3 separate regions of the Homo sapiens genome follow, and regions 2 and 3 are each linked to region 1. The links are contacts of gene promoters, found by promoter capture Hi-C in blood cells and fetal thymus (Javierre and others, 2016). All regions are on one chromosome and are shown on one strand. Each heading gives the region's core, a stretch centred on a gene start or on the middle of the fragment in contact. The rest is flanking DNA. Distances are from core to core; before and after follow the strand shown.

Region 1 (2,700 bases), core at 173-2,672:
TCCCTGGCCTGCTCCTGGTGACACCGTTGGCCCCCTTCCAGGGCTGAGGGAAGCCAGCGGGGGCCCCTTCCTGGAAGCCCACCTGCAGGCCGGCTTGCTGGGAAGGGGCTGCTCTCGCAGAGGCTCCCGCCCGCCCTGCAGCCGTTTCCTGGAAGCAGTCGCTGTGGGTATTCTGTTCCTTGTCAGCACTGTGCTTGCAAAGAAAGCAGACACTGTGCTCCTTGTCCTTAGGGAGCCCCGCTCCATCACCCAACACCTGGCTGGACACAGGCGGGAGGCCGGGTCCGCGGGGAGCGGCGCGGGGCTGGGGCCGGACCAGTAAACACACACGGGCGCCAGGCACTGCAGGCTCCTCCTCCTCCTCCTGCCCAGCGCCTCTGCTCACAGGCACGTGCCAAGCCCCTAGGCCAGGAGGCCCAGCAGTGGGTGCAGAGCAAGCTCCTGGGAAGGGGGTGCAGGGCGGACCCCCGGGGAGAAGGGCTGGCAGGGCTGTGGGGGACGCTGACCGTGGGCCCCACGTTGCAGAAAACTGGCTGCCTGGCTGGAAGATGGGGGAGATGCCAAGCCTCTGAGGCAGCACGAGCAGGGTGCATGGAGGCCGGGGCGCGGGGAGGCTGCACTGCAGCATGCACCCCAAAGCCCAGAGGGAGTGGAGACCAGGCCCTGGAATCGAGAAGTAGAAAGGCGGCTTGGAGGCCTCGGAACCGGCTGACCTCCAACAGAGTGGGGCCGGCCCTGGAGGCAAAGAGGTGCCCGGGGTCCGGCCCTGCCTGGGGGAGCTATGTGTCATGGGCAGCCACAGGATATGTAGCCAGCTCTGAGCATATGGACCCAGGGCAGGGCTGCAAGGCAGGGCAGGGGAGACAGACGGGGGAGCAAGGAGCAGAGAGGGGGCCTCAGGCTCTCCCAGGAGGAACATTCTCCCGACAGGAGGAAGAGACGGCCCAGGGGTGACTGTGGGGAGCCATGGTGGCAGCTGGGGTCGTGGCAGATGGGAGAGAGGCTGGCGAGGTGAAGGTGCAGGGGTCAGGGCTCTGGGGCCCACATGCCTGTGGGAGCGGGCAGGCCCAGGGCTCTCCGCCACTCCCCACTCCCGCTTGGCTCATAGGCTGGGCCCAAGGGTGGGGTGGGATGAGCAGGAGATGGGGCCCAGGGGGCAAGCAGGGCCCCAAAGACATTTAGAAAAACCGGTTTATGCAGGCAGCATTCAGAGCAGGCGGCGTGCGTGGCGGGGGCCCTGGGAGCACAGAGAGGCACACGTAGGGCCCCCGAGGGTCTCCCCATTGGCCGGCAGTGACATCACCCCTGTGTCAACAGTGATGTCTGCAGCTCCGGCCAGCCAGGGTTTATGGAGCGAGACCCAGCCCGGCCTGGGCCCTCACTCCCCAGGCCCACACACTAGCCCACTGTTCAGGGTCCGGGGTGGCAGCATGGCCTGGGGGTCCTGGCACCGCTGCTCCTCTGCCCACCCTAACTTCCCGGCATGGCGGCTGCCCCCTCTGAGCGTCCCCAACCAGTAAGTGTGGGGCCAGCAGGCCTGCCGTCCTCCTCCTCTTCCCTCTAGAGAGAAACGTGGAGGTCCTGGGGCTGGGGGCGCTCATAGCCCTGTGACACAGGTGCATGGGGTCAGGGGTCCCAGAATGGCCCCTGGGAAGGACCTCAGCTGGGCCGGCGGCTCTAGGCTTCAGGGGTCTGTCTGCACAGGGGCTAGCCCCTCCCAGACCTCTGTGAAGCCAGTACGGGCCTCCCCTCCCTGCCCCGTGCTCTGTCCGGTGCTTCCTGGACTGCACTGCGGGCCACTGGTGAGAGGGTGGACAGGGAAGGGCCGCCGTGGTGCCTGTTCCTGCCCACCTGGCTGTGTGGTCCCCTCCAAGTAGGGACAACCCTTCTGAGGGCTTGGGGGCACCCTGGGGTTGCCAGGGCCTCCCAGAGCCCTGTGAGCCCCTGGGGGGTCTGGCCTGATGCCCCCCTCCACGTCCAGGGCCGGCTGTGGCCCAGAACCCCAGCTTCCCAGCAGGCCGGTGTGCGGTGGTGACCCAGGAGAGGCCTCACCTCCACTGAGGGGCCACCGACCTCTGCCAGGCCACAGAGACCCCCAAGGAGTCTGAAGGCTGGAGACCCGGGGCTGGGACCAGGTGGGACTTTCCCACGGAGCCGCCCCCAGGCCCAGCTGGGGACACGTCCCCCTTCTCTCCAGACACACCCTGCCTGCCACCACGACACACCGGCCTGTTGGGGGTCTCTTTTAAGTGCTTGCCACTCTGAGGTGACTGTCCCTTTCCAAAGAGGTTTCTGGGGCCCAGGTGGGATGCGTCGGCCTGAGCAGGAGGATCTGGGCCGCCAGGGGCTGGGGACTGTCTCCTGGGGAAGGAAGCGCCTGGGAGCGTGTGTGCTGACCCAGGACCATCCAGGGAGGCCCGTCTGTGGGGCAAGCGGGAAGGGAGCGGCTGGAGAGGCTTGGCCGCCCCCGCCCTGCCTCCCATTCCTTAGCTCCATGCCTGTCAACCTCTGTCACCCAGTGAGTGATGTCCAGGGGCCCTGGAAAGGTCACAGCATGTTTGAGCGGGGTGAGAGAGAGGGGAAAGGCGGGGGCGGGGAAAAGTACGTGGAGGAAGCTCTAGGCCCAAGGAAGGAGAAAGGGTTCTGGGAGGGAGGGAGCCACTGGGGCCGCCGGGAAGGTCCCTGCCTGCTGCTGCCACC
Region 2 (2,700 bases), core at 198-2,697, 260 kb after region 1:
ATATCCTGCCAAAAACGCACAGCCAAACACCAGGCAGACCCAAACTGAGGGATCGTGAGAATAGATCTGGCCTATAATCAGAAGTGTCGAGGTCATGAACGTCAAGGAAAGATTGAGGAACCATTCCAGACAAATGTAATTAGGCACACTCTCACTCTGCAGTTTGTCTTTTCACTGTCTTAATGTTATATTCTGATAACTAAGTTATTTTTTATTAAATTCCATTTATAATTTTTATCTTGTATGACTGATGTTTTTCATGTCCTGTTAATTTTTAATTTCTTTTTTCTTTATTTTTTTTTTACTCACTTCAGGGTCATGAAGCTTTTCTCTTAATAGCTTTATTGTTCTGCCTTTTGGATCTAGGTCTGTGCTCCACCTTGGATGAATTTTTGTGTATGATGTGAGGTGGGAGGTCGGGGGAGCTGAGGACACTGTAGGTCCTCCACCCAGGTCTGCTTGGGTCATACCACTGTTCCTCTGTGCCCCACCCCCAGCCTCAGTGTGCATCTGTCTCCAAGAGTCCACGACTGAGATGGTACTTGGGAAGACCCTGTATCTGGACTTCATATCCCTTTCACAGTCTTTAGTCACTGCTGTTTCCGGCTGGAGCCCCAAAGCCAAGCTCCCCTGTCTGCATCAAGATAAACTTATGATCTATGATCAAGAGTTGCCATTGATTAGGCAGAAGCTGGGCCTGCACAGAAACCCCCACTCTCCTGAAATCTTACTTCCCTTCCCCCATTTTCCTAGGAGCATGTCCCCAGTAAATTACAGACATGGAGATCTTCTCACTTCTGGTTCTGCTGCCGGAGAACCTGAACCAACTCCGGGGCAATGTTAGTATTTTTATTCTTCCCATAGAGACGTCCCAGTGCTGCCATGTCCCTCATGGAGAAGACCATCTTTCCCCCACTAAGTTGCAGGGGCCCTCAGTGGTTTGTTGGGTGGCCGTAGAGACGTGGTGCATGTGTTTCTGGACTTCAGTCTGTCCCACTGGTCTATTTATCTGACTTTACAGCAGCATCAGACTGTCTCCATTCCTGTGGGAATACTATCTGTATTAAGTCTTCATAACTGGTAATGTTTTTCAAGGAATTTTTCCATTTCATTGAAGCTGCCAGATGTATTGACATAAAGTTGTTCATAGTATATTTTTATTCCATTTTGGATGTCTGTACCCACATTTTCATTTCTGATCATCCTATTTCATACTCTTGACAACTTTTGATTCTCTTTATTCTTGGTCAGTCTTGTAGATAATTATCAATATACTTATTTAAAAAAGAAAAGTTTGCCTGTGGGTCTTTCCATTGTGTGTCTGCTTTTCATTTCATTAATTTTTGTTCCTAACTTTATTATTCCCTTTCTTGTAATTTCTTTGGGTTTAAATTGCTGTTTTTCCCTCCAGCCTCTTTGGTGAATAATTCTTTTTAACTTTCTTTTTTCATAATATAATGAATTAATTTAAATCCATAAATATCCTACAAGTTTTGATATTATATATGTTTTATTATCATTTGTTTCAATATAGTTTCTGAGTTCTATCCTGATTTCTTTTTTGAATCCTTGATTACATAGACACTTGGTTAATTTGCAGACATTCAGATTTTTTTTTTTCTGAGACGGAGCCTCGCTCTGTCACCCAGGCTGGAGTGCAGTGGCACCACCATCTCGGCTCACTGCAAGCTCCGCCTCCCGGGTTCACACCATTCTCCTGCCTCAGCCTCCCGAGTAGCTGGGACTACAGGCGCCTGTCACCTCGCCCGGCTAATTGTTTTGTATTTTTAGTAGAGACGGGGTTTCACCGTGTTAGCCAGGATGGTCTCGATCTCCTGATCTCGTGATCTGCCCACCTCGGCCTCCCAAAGTGCTGGGATTACAGACGTGAGCCACCGTGCCCGGCAGACATTCAGATTTTTATAGTGATTATTATTGTTTTTTTCTTTGAGACAGAGTTTCGCTCTACACTCGCCCCCACTGGAGTGCAGTGGCGCAATCTCAGCTCACTGCGACTTCCGCCTTCCAGGTTCAAGCGATTCTCCTGCCTCAGCGTCCCGAGTAGGTAGGACTACAGGCACCCACCACTACGCCCAGCTAATTTTTTGCATTTTTAGTAGAGACCATGTTGGCCAGGCTGGTCTCAAACTCCTGGCCTCAGGTCATCTGCCCGCCTCGGCCTCCCAAAGTGCTGGGATTAAAGGCGTGAGCCACCACGCCCGGCCTGTAGTTATCCTTCTGTTCTCAGTATCTGGCTTTATTTTTACTATTGTCAGGGAACATTCCCTAGATCATTTCAATACTTTAACAATGCATGAGGCTTCTTTTTGAAGCAGATTTTGGTCTGTTCCTGTAACTGTGTCTATGTGCACTTGAAAAGATGTTTATTTTCCAGTTATTGGCTGTAAATTTTAATTATTTCCAGTGGTTAATTATGTTGTTGAAATCTTCTCCTGCCTTACTGATTTCATTTTCAGTCTAATTGTCCTATCAGTTGCTGAGAGACGTGCATTACGGCCTCCAACTCTGATTGTAGATTTGTCTATGTCTCCTTGCCACTGTCAAGCTTTGCTTTTGCGTATTTTAAGCAACGCTATCAGATGAATGGAAGTTTAGAATTGTCGTGTCTTTTTGATTGATCTTTTTGAAATTATCAAGTGATTCATTTTATTGGTAGCAATATTTCTTTTATTAAGTCTA
Region 3 (2,700 bases), core at 89-2,588, 370 kb after region 1:
ATCATTGCACTCCAGCCTGGGTGAAAGAGCAAAACTCCGTCTCAAAAAATAAACAAATAAACAAAATAAAACTTACTCTATAATTTTACCATCTCAACTGAGAGCCCTATTAAAGTTAGTATGCCATATTTGTAATTTGCTGCCATATTTGTTATTATTTGTTGCATAACTCAACCATTTGCAGGAAATCTACTTTTGTCTCCCGGATGACAAGTTTGCTTAGAAAGGTTTGTCTCCTTCCTTTCCTCCTCCTTTTGTTTTTTAAGGTTTGTTTTCATAGCTGTTACAGAATCTCATGTTACCTCTCTTGGGTTTGGCCAATCCTGTCTAGATCTTCTACCTATGTTGAAACAAAATGGGATGCTCCTGGTTCCCTTTACCCAGCACCTGAGGGCGGAGCTGCCAAGCTCTGGTGAGCACCTGGGGTGCGTGATGGTCTGCTCATGTCCAGTGCGGCCTCGCGCAGGGCTGGTGGGGGACAGCTTTGTTAGGATGCCTGGGCTCTGTGCTCACAATCCAGGTCTTATGAAGTGTCCCCATCCCAGCCTCACCGCGCCTAGTCGGGAGGCGTGAACTGTTGCCACACAGGGCTGCATCCTCTGACCCAGTGTGTTCCCTAGGAAGAAGCCATTTTCAGCACAGCAGGCACTTCCCTCTCTGTGGGTTTCTCTCAGTCCCCTGCCCCACAGCTCCCATTAGCAATGGGAACGACGGAACCTATAACCCCTCTCTCGCCTCTTCCAGATAAGACAAGGCCTTTATCCCAAGCTTGAAAGACATTCTTTTTTTTTTTTTTCTTTTTTTTTTTTTTGAGATGGAGTCTTGCTCTGTCGCCCAGGCTGGAGTGCAGTGGCACGATCTCGGCTCACTGCAAGCTCCGCCTGCCGGGTTCACGCCATTCTCCTGCCTCAGCCTCCCAAGGAGCTGGGACTACAGGCGTCTGCCACCACGCCCGGCTAATTTTTTTTTGTATTTTTAGTAGAGACGGGGTTTCACCATGTTAGCCAGGATGGTCTCGATCTCCTGACCTCGTGATCCGCCCGCCTGGGCCTCCCAAAGTGCTGGGATGACAGGCGTGAGCCAGCGCGCCCGGCTGAAAGACATTCATTTTTATACCATCTAATAATGTTGGCGAGGCTAAAAATGACAATTAAGACAAAGTGAGAATGGCTTTTAAAAACGTCAGAAATTAAACTCAAGTACATGCCTGTGGAAAAACAAAGTACACTGTTTGAACACAAGGGATTTGTTCTCTCAATATCCAAATAACTTTTAAAGCAGTAATGAGAAGTCAAAAAGGTATAAATTTTTTTTTTTTTTTTTTGAGACGGAGTCTTGCTCTGTCGCCCAGGCTGGAGTGCAGTGGCATGATCTCGGCTCACTGCAAGCTCCACCTCCCAGGTTCACACCATTCTCCTGCCTCAGCCTCCTGAGTAGCTGGAACTACAGGCGCCCGCCACCACGCCCGGCTAACTTTTTGTACTTTTAGTAGAGACGGGGTTTCACCATGTTAGCCAGGATGTTCTCGATCTCCTGACCTCGTGATTCGCCCACCTTGGTCTCCCAAAGTGCTGGGATTATAGGTGTGAGCCACTGTGCCTGGCCAATAAAAAAGTATATAATTTATATTGGAGTAAAAGAATCACCCTCACTAATAGTTAATTGAAGAGATTAACAACAGGATGATAAATGAGATCCCCCATCCACCCATGAAATTCCTGAGATTTTTAACATAAACAATACTCACCACGTGAGGCTGTGTATGCAGCAGCCAGGAGTCCTGAGCACCCCACGACCTGAGGCTGGCGGAGGAGAGATTCACTGCAGTGCACCAATGTGTTAAGACAGAACCAAGATACAACGTTGGTTCCTCAATTAGCCTCTTTAATTATATGGATGAAAGCTTAGTTTTTAAAAAATTATCTTCACACAAAGTTCACAGTTTCAAAGAAAAATATAATGCCATAGGTGGGAAGAAAAGATGGGAAGAAAACAACCAAAATGATCTTTGTAGAAAACCCATCCTCTGCCCATCACATGAGGAAAACAGAAGGCAGGTGATCAGTTCAGTACAAGGTCCAGTTCCAAGGAGGAAGTGACTACATTTAGAAACATAAGCAGGTGGGTGTTGGATCAGGCCAATGAGAACCCGAAGTCCAGCAAACAAATAATCACATACCCAGGAAGTGCTGGGAATGATGGAGTGACCAAGGTCTCAGAGCAACCCTACCCAGGGATATAAGGGGGTCCAGGCTCAGGGGGCTCCACACCTGCACCTCCATCTCATCTGCTCCTCTACCTGCTCCACCCTCAATCCACCAGAACCATGGGCTGCTGTGGCTGCTCTGGAGGCTGTGGCTCCGGCTGTGGGGGCTGTGGCTCCGGCTGTGGGGGCTGTGGCTCTGGCTGTGGGGGCTGTGGCTCCGGCTGTGGGGGCTGTGGCTCCGGCTGTGGGGGCTGTGGCTCCAGCTGCTGTGTGCCCATCTGCTGCTGCAAACCTGTGTGCTGCTGTGTGCCAGCCTGTTCCTGCTCCAGCTGTGGCTCCTGTGGGGGCTCCAAGGGGGGCTATGGCTCTTGTGGGGGTTCCAAGGGGGGCTGTGTCTCCTGTGGGGGTTCCAAGGGGGGCTGTGGCTCCTGTGGGGGCTCCAAGGGGGGCTGTGGCTCCTGTGGGGGTTCCAAGGGGGGCTGTGGCTCCTGTGG

The links. Contacts are between HindIII fragments. The CHiCAGO score rates a contact against its expected background, and 5 or more counts as called.
Region 2: a contact is called between a fragment that was not itself captured here and the fragment with the promoter of MRPL23-AS1 in region 1, in 1 of 17 cell types (M1 macrophages). The highest score is 6.4, in M1 macrophages.
Region 3: a contact is called between a fragment that was not itself captured here and the fragment with the promoter of MRPL23-AS1 in region 1, in 1 of 17 cell types (M2 macrophages). The highest score is 5.4, in M2 macrophages.

What each region holds. Positions count from the first base shown.
Region 1 is chr11:1,988,642-1,991,341 of GRCh38, reverse strand. It overlaps MRPL23-AS1 (MRPL23 antisense RNA 1), which reads left to right and starts at 1,422. Exons shown (of 4, transcript NR_024471.1): 1 at 1,422-1,516. LINC01219 (long intergenic non-protein coding RNA 1219) reads right to left here and starts at 246. Exons shown (of 3, transcript NR_126400.1): 1 at 83-246. It also overlaps a transcript of MRPL23 not described here. RefSeq lists enhancers at 1-2,700, 1-2,700. The HindIII fragment of the contact is 17,986 bases long and covers 1-2,700 here.
Region 2 is chr11:1,724,595-1,727,294 of GRCh38, reverse strand. No RefSeq gene overlaps it. Among named protein-coding and RNA genes, the nearest start is that of IFITM10, 25 kb to the left of the region's middle. The HindIII fragment of the contact is 2,242 bases long and covers 327-2,568 here.
Region 3 is chr11:1,621,720-1,624,419 of GRCh38, reverse strand. It overlaps KRTAP5-4 (keratin associated protein 5-4), which reads left to right and starts at 2,282. Exons shown (of 1, transcript NM_001347674.1): 1 at 2,282-2,700. The coding sequence starts at 2,327. The HindIII fragment of the contact is 1,135 bases long and covers 771-1,905 here.